Linked DNA regions of Homo sapiens: region 2 is linked to region 1. The links are contacts of gene promoters, found by promoter capture Hi-C in blood cells and fetal thymus (Javierre and others, 2016). All regions are on one chromosome and are shown on one strand. The core of a region is centred on a gene start or on the middle of the fragment in contact, and the rest is flanking DNA. Distances in the headings are between cores, read along the strand shown.

Evidence for each region. Contacts are between HindIII fragments. The CHiCAGO score rates a contact against its expected background, and 5 or more counts as called.
Region 2: a contact is called between a fragment that was not itself captured here and the fragment with the promoter of RASAL2-AS1 in region 1, in 1 of 17 cell types (monocytes). The highest score is 7.2, in monocytes.

What each region holds. Positions count from the first base shown.
Region 1 is chr1:178,091,867-178,098,229 of GRCh38, reverse strand. It overlaps RASAL2-AS1 (RASAL2 antisense RNA 1), which reads left to right and starts at 4,237. Exons shown (of 2, transcript NR_027982.1): 1 at 4,237-4,669; 2 at 4,818-6,363. It overlaps RASAL2 (RAS protein activator like 2), which reads right to left and starts at 4,126. Exons shown (of 18, transcript NM_170692.4): 1 at 3,536-4,126. The coding sequence starts at 3,737. RefSeq lists silencers at 3,688-3,747, 3,898-4,057, 4,128-4,427, 4,478-4,527 and an enhancer at 4,149-4,650. The HindIII fragment of the contact is 4,675 bases long and covers 1,061-5,735 here.
Region 2 is chr1:179,016,683-179,022,775 of GRCh38, reverse strand. It overlaps a transcript of FAM20B not described here. Among named protein-coding and RNA genes, the nearest start is that of FAM20B, 6.2 kb to the left of the region's middle. RefSeq lists a cis regulatory region at 5,315-5,826. The HindIII fragment of the contact is 4,064 bases long and covers 1,578-5,641 here.

The DNA of each region.
Region 1 (6,363 bases), core at 2,988-5,487:
ACTGACTTACTATGAGCAAGGTACCAATCTGGCAGACAAGTTGACAATGAAGGGGGTGGCAAGATAAGAATACAAAGATAAACAAGGCTCCCTGATATCAAAAATTTTATAGTCTTGACAAGGCATGGGCACAACTTATAATACTGGAATAAAACAAATGAAACATTTTACAACTACAAGGAAATGAAGATTAGGACAGACAGCACAAATATTTTTCTCTCAGCCACATCTCAAAAATGTGCATTAGTTTGTGTTCTAAATATAGAGCCACCTATTATAAAGCTCTGAACATATTCCAGAAAAGTTTTCCAAATCATGGCAATACACAAAACCCTGAGTATACGTATTATGACAATATATACATATGTACACAATATATATGTATTATCAACCAAGGAGCCAAACCTGTCAACAAGAAACTCAAAACAGTGCCTAGTCTTCAAATTTTGTGAGGCAAACTAATAAAATATTGTTTCTAGAAGTTCCTGTTAAGATATTCTTTGGGGGGTTACTTCTGTTGTTGTTTGTTCCCATCATGATTTCAAACAGAAGTATATTGCAGGAGATGCAAATTGCACTTAATAAAGTTCCTTATTATTATCCTACCTTTAGAACCCACATGGCTATGTAGGTTAGGTCTCAAAACTGGATGAACTAGACCTAAGCAACATCGCCATACTCATCTTCCTATCTTGTGAAAACATTCCAAATAAATAAACATCTGCCTTCAATATATCTTCTTTGAAAACTCAGTTCACTGACCTTTTGATAAAACTGCTCCCCAGAATTCCCTGACAATCATGATTTAAATGCATTAAGTTAAGGGCTTGGTTAATGCCTGGCCCCAAGAGCCAGGATAAAGATTATAGGCCAACCTGCAGGTAAAATAATGGGCCAAGCCACAGAATCAGACAACTTTAAAGCTAAAAGGGACCACAGATACCAATTACTCCAGATTCCACTTTTATGCTGAAACCTAGAGGCCATGAGTTAAAACTACCTGCCCAGAATTAGACAACCAACTTGTGGCAAAGCCAGAATGAAACCAATACTCTAAGCTTCTAGTTGTATCCTCTAGACTAGGTTCCCAATTTGTAGATTTCCCTGAAACATGTTAGACTACACTCATCAAAGTCTCTTTAAATTGTGAGAAGAACCTAGGTGATCCAAGACAACGAAGGTTTTGAACACACAGACAAGAAACAAGAAAAACAAAAATTCTGTATTCTCCAAATTGTTTTTCTACATTCTATTACTTTTATTTCAAAGTTTTTACTTCAAAGTTTTCAAACATACACCCTGTTCATACAATAGGCAACTTAAAACTAGCTAAGGACATAGCCAAGAGTCATTCCAATAGTTCTGAAATATTTACATAAACTAAAGACAACAAAATAGTATCCAGGATGAGCTGCCTCAGAGGAAGGAAAGTAGCAATACTAAACAATAAATAAAAACAACTTCTGGTTAATTGATAGAGAAAACAAAAAAAGTTACAATGCAGTGGTAAGTCTGCAATTGGTCACAAAAATGCAAGGCATGGTATGTATATGTGTGTGTCACACACATATACATACCATGCATTTCTGTGATGTCTGATATGAAGTCTTGACATCAATTGAACCACGCAGAAAGAAAACTTCTAAGTCGTGGTCACTCTTGAACAATAAACATATATCCTGTTCAGAAGGACGAAAGAAAAAAAACATAATGTAAACTTGCTCTCACTCTCTCTCTCTCTTACACACACACACACACACACACAAAATATACAATATATATTTCACAAATCAACCCCTAGGAATGGACTACAAAACAACATACATTTGTAGACTTTTATGTCCTTACAAATGAAGAACGATAGTTAACACTAGGTCCAGAGAACCCAGATTGTTTTGGATACTGAAATACCGAATTATCATATACATGTATTCTTAGAATAGCATGGCCCTATTTCTAACATCACACAAATAAACAGTATGCCAAAGAAGTGTGTAAGGAGAGAAAGATGATAGAATGGGAAAACGTTGTAACTACAATATACTCTAATTCATATGCACTTTCAGATTCTCACCAACCTTTGTTCTAAATGACCAGCTAAGTGGGATTTAGCAGGCAGACGGAAAATCAGGCACCAAAGTTTTTAATCTAATTTGCTGAGAACAAACTGGGTGACCTTGCATCGTCTCCCACTCCTTTGCTTTAAATCTTCCGGTACGTAGAGTAACATCAAGAAACAGCCAGCAAAATACAAAGTGGTACACAAATCCTTAAGAACTGGTTATAAGAAGAATTCCTGGATTTTTATGATTAAAAGGGTCACTAGTGATGATTTAATCCAATCCACTCACTTTACAGATGAGGAATCACAAGCCAAAAATGTGACTCGATCTGCCCCAAATCCCATAGCCATTTAGTGGTAGAACTGAGACAAGAACTGAGATCTCTGGACTCCTAGTTCTATGATCTTTGCGATGGACATTAAGTCTTCAAATCAACTGAACTACACAGAAAAAAACCTAAGTCTTGGTCACTCTTGAATAGTAAGCATATACCCTGTTCAGAAAGATGAAAGAAAAAAACATAAGGTACTTGATCACTACAGGCTTAGATGCACAAGACTGCAGGATAACATCTTAACATTGTGTTTGATCCCAGGTGCTTCAAATTTGCCATCTTATACTCAGCCACGTTACTAATGTCTTCTGCAGTCACGTGAGCTAGGCGATAAACATCTTGCCGTTTCAATATTTTGGAAAGCCACAGCTCAGTCCTGAATGCCAGGCTATAAATCCTTAAGCTATGAGTTTTCAAAACCAGCATGGTTTTAGTGCTGCCACAAGGCTCACCCTAATAGAATCTCATCATTCAGTTTTAATTAAAGAGGTGGTTACCAGGAATGCAGAAAGGGAAAGTTTTAGTGTGTTCATCACTTTTAACCTGCTGAGTGGCAACCCAGTCACTTTACAACGAGATTCAGAAACAATAGTGTAATCTGAAACAATCCACACCCGTTGGAATAAGTGGTTGCTTTTAGAGAGAGTGAGGTTCAGGCAGAGGTTATAGATTAGTCTTGCTCCCACCAAATACATAGTTTGCATTTTTTTCATTCATTAGCTTATCCTCTGCTTTTTCATAATATCTTGGTTTCCAGTCTTGCCTCATTCAACAATAAAAAGAGACGAAAATCCATTCACTTGGTTTCATGGAGTTTTTCCATCATACCTTCTTGAAGATTGATTGCCTGGCTGTTCCCTTGAAGTAATCGCCTAAGAATTACGTCTTGGATAGCCCAACTCCCGCATTAAACTTACTGCAGGTGTCTGAAGAGGTCCAAAGACCATACTGAGTGACATCCCTGCCCAAGTGATAGTCTGAAGAAACTTGTCAGAAATGCACCCCCAGAACAAAAAGGGATGTGGGAAACTGACCTAGCACGGATGAGGACTGGGAATGAGCCTGTGACTTAGGGAATGAATTTCAGCCCAAGCAAAAATAGGAAACACCAGCCTCTAAGACGGCCTGTGGTCCTTACCGTACACCCGGACCCAGCTCTGTTGCTGGCACACGGACTCCAGAAGGATCCGATCCAACATGCCACCGGCGACGGCTCCACTGACTGGGACAACCGCGTCCAGGTCCTCCGGGGGCAGCGGCGAGTCGGACTCCAGCGCCGGGAACATCTCCGGCCAGGACAGCGCCTCCGCGGCTCCTCCGGACGACGGAGAGAGCTCCATGGTGCCCCGAGGCGGGAGGGGGACGAGGCGGCGGCTTCGGGGCGGGCTGGCGCGCGGCTCCGCGCCCTGCCTGCGGTAAGGGGAGGAGGAGAGCGCGCAGCGAGGGCAGGGACCCGAGCGGCAGCCGGCGCGGACACCTCTCACCTCCTTCCCCGTCGCCCACTGCCCGAGGCTCGGGCGATGCAGCCCACCTGCAGTCGGCGGGCGGGACCCAGGCCGGGAGGAGGATCCAGCGTGGCCCCGACCAAGGGTGGGTCCGGGCTCAGGTGTGTGTGGGTCCCTCCCGGGAGAGGACGCAGAAGAACCCGGGAGGGGAGGCTCGCCCTCCCACCTCCTCGGAGCCGCCTTCTTCAGCCCCGCCGGCGTCTCTCGCGGTCAGACCAGGCTCTGGCTGGGGATGGAGCGGGGCCGGGCAGGGCTGGGCTTGGGGGCGTCGCCGCCAGGGGCCGCCCCCTCTGACCGGCTCCCGCCGCCGCCGCCTCAGAAGCTCCGAGTGCCCGTTCCCTCAGCCTGAGGAGGGGTAGGGGGCGGTGGCCCCGGGTTCTAGCCCGCCTGTCCTCGGCCCCCACTTCTGGAATGAGCCTGCCCGCCCCCTGACTCTCAGGCCACAGCTCCGGCCACAGCTCTGGCTCCTGCTCCGCGGCGGATCCCACAAACCCGGCAGCCACGGCGGTGGCGGTGGCGGTGGCGGTGGCGGTGGCGGCGGCGGCGGCGGCGGCAGCGGCAGGCGGCATCCCAGGGTGATAGGCTGAAGCAATCGAGGGCCGAGAGCCCGGCCGCGTGTGCACTCGAGTAACGAAGCCGGGGAGGGACTGCGCCGCAGGCAGGAAAAGTCGGACACCGAATTATTCATCCGGCCTGTCCCGCCTACTTTCCAAGTACCCTCCCAGGGATAGCCGGGTATTGAGCGGTCCGGGTCTCTGCTGCTCAAAGTAAAGACCGTTTGAGAAGGCGGGGAGGTAAAAGGGTGCGGGAAATTTAAACAGAAAAGAAAGGAGCTTCCCTTCCTTCTCACACCTTTCCTATTTATTTGTTTCTTTCTTTCTTTATGGGCCAACGTTTCTTTCTTATTGGACAAAGAGATCGAAGAAGCTGCTTTATCTTACAGTCACCCAAGGGGGAGCGCCTTCTTCCTTCCCAGAGTGGAGTGGCAGTGGGTCCGGGATTCTGGGATATGCACAGGGTCTGCGCCCTGCGCCCTGTCCGCGCTGAAGCTGAACTTGTCATTGGTTTGCAACAGCATGGTGAAGAAGTGTGGTGTGGATGGACGGACGGGCCTCTCAGGCACATGAAATACTCAAAGCCCAGTATTAACCAAACATGTTTCTCTGTTTTGTCTTTGATCTTTGTGCAGTGTGTTGGCTTTTTTCCTTTAATGATGTCACTTGTATTTTATTTTTGGTTTATTTGTAGACTGTCTCCCTCCTTGGCCATGGCTTTACTTTTATGTCCACCCAAGGAGAGTTTCACCAGTTTAGGTTTAAGAAATTACTGACAAGTTAACAATAATAATTTCAAAATTGAACAGTAATAACTTAAACCGTGCCTTGGACATAGTAGATCTCCAACAGTTTTTCTTGAATGTGGCTACCTAATGTGGAACAAGATTTTTCATAATTACATGTTGCTATTTTTAATACCTTTTGGGAGGTTCTTTAGTCCCCCCCGCCCTTTCTCCCTACGTTGCACAAAGAGACTGGTCTACAAGGGGTCCTGTTAGTTTTCTGGTTTTGTGGGGTCCTGGAATATTGTTTGGGCTTATTGAGAGTTAACAAGGATGTATTTTGTGAGTTTCTCCAAAGTCTTATTTAGAGTAATAGTATTTCAAAGCAAGAAGTGTTTTAGAGAGAACATCATTCTGCCTCTTGTTTAACAGGTGAGGAAACTGAGGAAAAACCAGCTTACCTGGCTAATCAACCACAAGTACAGATAGTTCCACAATGACTCAATGGATATTACTTCAACTTTGTTCCCTCAAGAAACTTTTGTGATTAAGCTTGTTGATTTGTGGCTTGATGGTTTACAGGAATGGTCATTTTTAATATCTAGGACCCTGCTTGCTTGCTTGCTTGCTTGCTTACTAGACTGGCTGCATAGTCAGTCTTCCACGTGTAAACAACAGTGTGTGCTTTAGTGGATAAGAGATGTTGAGTGCTGAGATTTCAAGGCTCAGCACTGAGTAGACCTAGAGCATTTTTATTTATACTAAATTAATGCCATGGTAACATAAGTTAGACAGCAAGTGAATATGGCATCAAATGTACAAAGTTGAGTATCTCTTTACTAGTCAATGTATAAGGAATTTATTTACCCAAGCAATTATCTTAAAAACAGCATTACAAGTGGTATGCGAAACATTTCCAGAATTTATTTCCACATCTGCTCTTTCAGTGGCATCATCCATTCCTGAGCTCAAGAAAAGGCCTCTGCCAACCGCCAGTAATCCTGCTTTTTTAGTAATCCTACTATTTTTTTTTTAACTTTAAGTTCTGGGATACATGTGCAGAACATGCAGGTTTGTTACATAGGTATACATGTGCCTATGTATACCTATGTAACATGGTGGTTACAGTAAACATGGTGGTTTACTGCATCTATCAACCCGTCATCTAGGTTTTAAGCCCTG
Region 2 (6,093 bases), core at 2,360-4,859, 930 kb before region 1:
GGTTGTATTGACATCTGCGTCTTCTGTAGCACTAACACTGCACATGGCCCATGGTAGCCATGCAATGCTTGAAAGGAAGGTTTGAGAACATGTACTACAGAGCAGGGAATTGAGCCCCAGAGACTTATTTCTTGGTTCCTTCATCATTGTAAGCATTTTCCTTAAACTGTTTCAGAATTTCCAAGTCTCTGCCAATTTGTCAAGCCCTAGGACTCCAATAACAGTCCAGCAATCCCAAGTTAGAAGGAGGATATTGTCTCAAGGTGCTTTTGCATACACGAAGGCAAAATATATATGCATACACGCGCGCGCGCACACACACACACAGAGTTTCTTTTAACCTAGGCAACACAGCCACCATGATGGATCCCTCTGAAACTAATTAAATTAATTCTACATCAAGCAAGTCGAGAGGAGCCCTAGGAAAGCTCACGCTGTTCCAAGGTGCCAGGAGCCTGGGGAGAGGGTGACGGGAAAGGCTAGCGAGTAAAGGAGCACACATATCTCTCTGTTTCCTTCCAGGAGCATGTGCCCTGCCTCAGCTGCTTCCCAGGCAGGTTTGTTCTCTGCATTGGGCTGTCTGTGGACAGCTGCTTCTGCATTTCTTTCCTAACAGGGAAAACTCCTTTCTTTCATTTTGCCACCAGATCTGCAGAGCTACTCCCAGCCCGCCTCTTGCTTATAGCAACGGACTGCCCACTTACCCCATCACGTGGCACCCCTGTCAATGCCATCTGAGCAAACAACTCACGTCCCAGGGACAGCATCATAAGCTACATACATACACAGCACACCCAGCTTCTCTGCTGAGACATTCGGGCTGTGGATTCTGAAAGTGGTGGGAATATTTCGGTTATTTTTTCACTCTAGCAATATTATTTTTAAGAAAAGCTTTATTGAGATATACATACCACAAAACTCACTTGCTTAAAATATACTCAGTGCCTTTTAGTATATTTACAGAGTTGAGCAACCACTAACATAATCTAATTTTAGAACATTTTCATCACCCCCAAAAGTAATACGGGATGTTTTCTTTTTTATTCTGAAAATATATTTACCTATTTATTTTGTTCTTTAAATCTGCACAGTAAAAGCAAAAAGAAAAATACATTAATGGATATGTTAGATTTCTAGAGTTAGTAAGAAATGCAGAGGAGTTATGGCTCTCAAAGCTGTGTATCACTTAACTGTCATGTATGGCTATAGAAATTTGTTTAACTACCCCAAAGTGTACACTTTGTTGTGGCATATACGCTTCAGTAAATGTCCAGGGCCACATCTTTGACATTTTCCAGTTTGTTATGAATTTCTCTAATGCCACATATGGCTTTTCAAGGGATTGGGTGGAGAGAGAATTGCAAATTCCAGATTGCTAATTCCCACAAGGTAATACTTTTGTAATATGCCTAGGATGGTACCACAGGCATATTGGTATTTAACACACATTTTTTTTTTGTTGTGATGGAAGCTGTTTTTTATTGACTCAATTCAATGCATGAAGTAATTGCAGTCACATGGAAGTTCTGGGTTCCTCAGACTTCTCTTTGAGACCCTGCTTGGAAAGCCAGGAAGCTTCTACCATCGATGGATAATGTGGTAAGGAGTTCAGCAGAAGGCTCTTTGAGCCTTTCTCATGGCTGGCCGAGGGATGTGCTAGAGGACAATTATCAGTCTGGCTGTAGGGGAGCTTTTTTTTCTTTTTGAGACAAAGTCTCCCTCTGTCGCCCAGGCTGGAGTGCAGAGGTGCAATCTCAGCTCACTGCAAACTCTGCCTCCTGAGTTCAAGCGATTCTCCTGCCTCAGCCTCCCGAGTAGCTGTGACTACAGGCGTGCGCCACCATGCCTGGCTGATTTTTGTATTTTTAGTAGAGATGGGGTTTTGCCACAGTGGCCAGGCTGTCCTCAAACTCCTGACTTCAAGCGATCCTCCTGCCTTGGCCTCCCAAAGTGCTGGGATTACAGGCTTGAGCCATTGTGCCCAGCCCAGAGGAGCTTTTTAAATAGCTCTATGCCTGCCCCCATCTGCAAAAATTTGAATTTAATAGTCTTGTGGTGAGGTCCTAGCAAGGGTATTTTTTAAAACCTCCAGTTTATTCTAATTTGCAACCAAGGCTGAGAACCATTGTCCTACTAGCGACTAAGCCAGGGCCATGTTAATAGGTTGAATCATGTGAAATTGTCATCTTTATAGGGCAAAGTTGAACATGGACAATTTTATATAGTTCAATCTAATATACAGGCAATTGGGTTTTATTTTCAAGGGAAGATAGCTTGGTCTTTTGGTAACCTTCTGTAGGAAGCCAGCCATCTCTCCAAGCGCTCATCCTGCTGTGAGCAAGGATGAGAAAGATGTGACAAGGAAGAAAGCCAGTGCCCTGTTGGTCCAGATGCTGCCCCTTGGTGGACCAGACCCCCTACATCTTTCCTTCCAGTGGGGCTTAGACATACAGAAGCCTGTGGCTGTCAGGCATGAAGGGAAATGAGCAAAGCAGGCCAAAGGTGAGGCAACCAGAAGGGTTGAGGGAACATGACATACCAGAGAGCCTGGTCCCTCCTTCAAAGGCATTTACATTTAAGTGTGTGTGTGTGTGTGTGTGTGTGTGTGTGTGTGTGTGTGTATACACACACATACACAGAGCAGGCCAAATCATAGACATCTATGGGTTGAAATCTAGTCTTCAGTCCTACAGTTTGTGATCCTTTCCTGGAAGGTAGATGTTTGTGGCACAGGGAGGTGACCCGAACAGAGGAAGACAAGGTACTCAACACAGTGGGACTATAAGCCCAGGGAGAAAGAACCAGTACCTCACTGATGGCTGCTGTACCCCTCTGGGGCCCATGGGTGAAATAAGGAGGCATGGCATGTAGGCAGGGAGATCCCTCAGGCAAGGGAGTACAGGGGACCACTGAAGGGAGTGTGCTAGGATTTTCAGAGATGTTAGCAACGCTTTGAAAGAAATGGTAATACCAGGCTGGTATTTTCACCATGGCAATGCACAAGAAAGGGTCTCGGCCAGGCGCAGTGGCCCACACCTGTAATCTCGGCACTTTGGGAGGCTGAGGTGGGCAAATCACCTGAGGTCGGGAGTTTGAGACCAGCCTGACCAACATGGAGAAACCCCATCTCTACTAAAAATCCAAAATTAGCTGGGCATGGTGGCACATGCCTGTAATCCCAGGTACTCGGGAGGCTGAGGCAGGAGAATCACTTGAACCCAGGAGTGAGAGGTTGCGGTGAGCCAAGATCGTGCCATTGCACTCCAGCCTGGGCAACAAGAGCAAAACTCCATCTCAAAAAAAAAAAAGAAACAAACAAACAAAAAAAAAAACCAGAAAGAAAGAAAGGGTCTCACTTAATGTGACCACCAGTCATCCAACCAAAATCATCAGTTGTCTTAGACTCATTTTTCTCACCCCCACCTCTGATTAGCACCAAGTTCTGCCAACTGTGGCTGCTAGAGAGTTCTCAATCCATCTCCTTCCTTCCAGCCACCCAACCACTGCTCATGTTCAGGCACCATTTTCTCCCCACTGGATTATGGCAACAGTTAATTTTATGTGTCAACTTGACTGGGCCATGGGATGCCCAGATAAATATTATTTCTAGATATATCTGTTAGGGTGTTTCTGGAAAAGATTAGCATTTGAATTGGTGAACTGAGTCAAGCAGATGGCCCTCCCCACTGTGCGTGGACTGCATCCAATCTGTTCAGGGTATAAACAGAACAAAAATGTAGAAGAAGGTTGAATATGTGATCTCTGACTACTTTAGCTGGGATATGGATCTTCCCCTGCCGTTGCTACCCCTGCTTCTCAGGCCTTCAGATCTGGACTGCAATCTATACCATCGGCCCTCTGGCTCTCAGGTTATACGACCAGCTTTCCTGGGTCCTCGGCTTGCAGACAGCAGATTGTGGGACTTCTCAACCTCCATATTCACGTGAGCCAATACCTTCTCATAAGTCCCTTTCTAGAGATATATGTATACATAGATCCTATTGGTTCTGTTTCTCTAGAGAACCTTGACTGATACAGATTTAATGCTATGGAATGAGTGTGTCCCCACAAACTCATAACTTAATGGTATATCATGAACAACTTCTACATTATTACATATTTTTACTACAACATTTTCTTAAATCACAACATTTTTAAAAGATCTTTGGGGCCGGGCATGGTGGCTGACGCCTGCAATCCTAGCACTTTGGGAGGCTGAGGCGGGAGGATCACCTGAGGTCAGGAGTTTGAGACCAACCTGGCCAACATAGTGAAACCCCGCTTCTACTAAAAATAAAAAAATTAGCCAGGCGTGATGGTGGGCACCCATAATCCCAGCTACTCGGGAGGCTGAGGCATGAAAATCGCTTGAACCTGGGAGGTGGAGTTTGCAGTGAGCTGAGATTGTACCATTGTACTCCAGCCTGGGCGACAGAGTGAAACTCAGTTTCAAAAAAAAAGATCTTTGGTATTCCATGCTGAGGTTATACTGAGGTTTGTTTAGCTGGTTCCTTTTAAGTTAGACATTTAGGCTGCTTACATTGAGACTTTTTACATAAAGGTCATAGGGCAGAGAGGCATAACAGAGATGGAGGTGTTCTCCCAGGACCCAGGCACATGTGACACAGAGGGAACTTGTCACAGATACAGCACAGTTCCACTCCAAGGGCTCCTGGAGAATCCATAAGCAACTGGAATTATCCTCTTTGATGATTCATCCAGATGTCAAGGGCAGAACACCCTCTGGCCTTCTTAGCTAGCTGCCTGCTAATCAGCAGCTTACTCAAGAAAAGGCAAAGTTCATTATCTTTCACACGTCTGCAGTTTTTCATTTTTCTCCTTTCTCCTCTTTTCCTATTTCTTATTTTGGCTCTGATATATGAAATAAAGCTATTTTTGGTTTCCCTTGTATTCAAGTAAATGGTGCCCTAATAATTAACCCTATGTCTTTGAATTATTCTTTGATACTATTATACACAGTCTTTCTGTGATCATTCTTGTAGCAAATTGGTGTGCTTATTCAGGACTGTGTTCCATGGCACTAACTTCTGGTGGATGCTGTGTGACTGTATTGCCCTATCTGACTCTAGCCCACAATGTGAAGGAAGGCAGCTTTCAGCATCACAGGTTATAAAATGCACCAAAGAATGACATAATGACACAGAAATAAATATAGAATGCTCAATGAAAAGCTAAGTACTGGAGAAACTTACAAGGAAAATGAAAATAATTCCAGCCCTGCAAATCTTACCTTCCTCCATACGCAAACACAGACTGGCAATTCACAAGTAAATGCAAGGTTTTCAATATCCAACAGTTTGTAGTCATGAAAAAAAAGTCAAAAGTAAAACACTCCGTACAGTGCCTTTCCTTGTCCTTTTTAAAGCTCAAAAGAGGCTCAAGCAACAACATTCTCCTTCTGAGTTGAAACCAACAGGAGCTGAGGCTGCCCTGGGACAGTGGCCCTTTTATGAACTGGGAGTGAAGACCGGGCTTATTCACAGGACTTGTGGGGCAGTTGGACCACACCCTTTCTGGGCTGCTTGCCAGTGTGTGGTTTGGGCTGGGCCTTGATGGGATTGCTGATCTCCAGAGGGCAACATGGGGTGTGCATTTGAACCAGCCTTCCTTCGGGGAAGCTTTAACGTCAACTATGAGATGTGGCTCTTGATAGATTTTCAATCCCCATTTCCTGAGCTGCTGCTGCATGCTGGGCCTGGGGACAATAAGGACACCTTGCTGGCCTGTGCAGGATCCCAGTCCAGTGGGAAGATTGACACATAGGCCCAGAATCACAGTAAAATTCTGCCATCATTTGTATAACAGACATCTACTGGTCAGCTCTTTTTGCCAGCTCCACGATTCCAAAAGAGGAAGGGTTTCGTAGAGGCTGTCTGGTTGGAAAGGGGTAGCTAGGGCACTAGATGGAAGCAGTTTTTTCATAGATTATACACTGCAGCCTATAAATATAGCAAAGTTTTCCAAAGGTGTTTTTATTCATGTACATATGATTGAGAAAATGTTTCTCAGTTTCCATGTCATTACATATATTGCCACATTCTAAAATTGTTTTTCATATTTGATTATTACTTG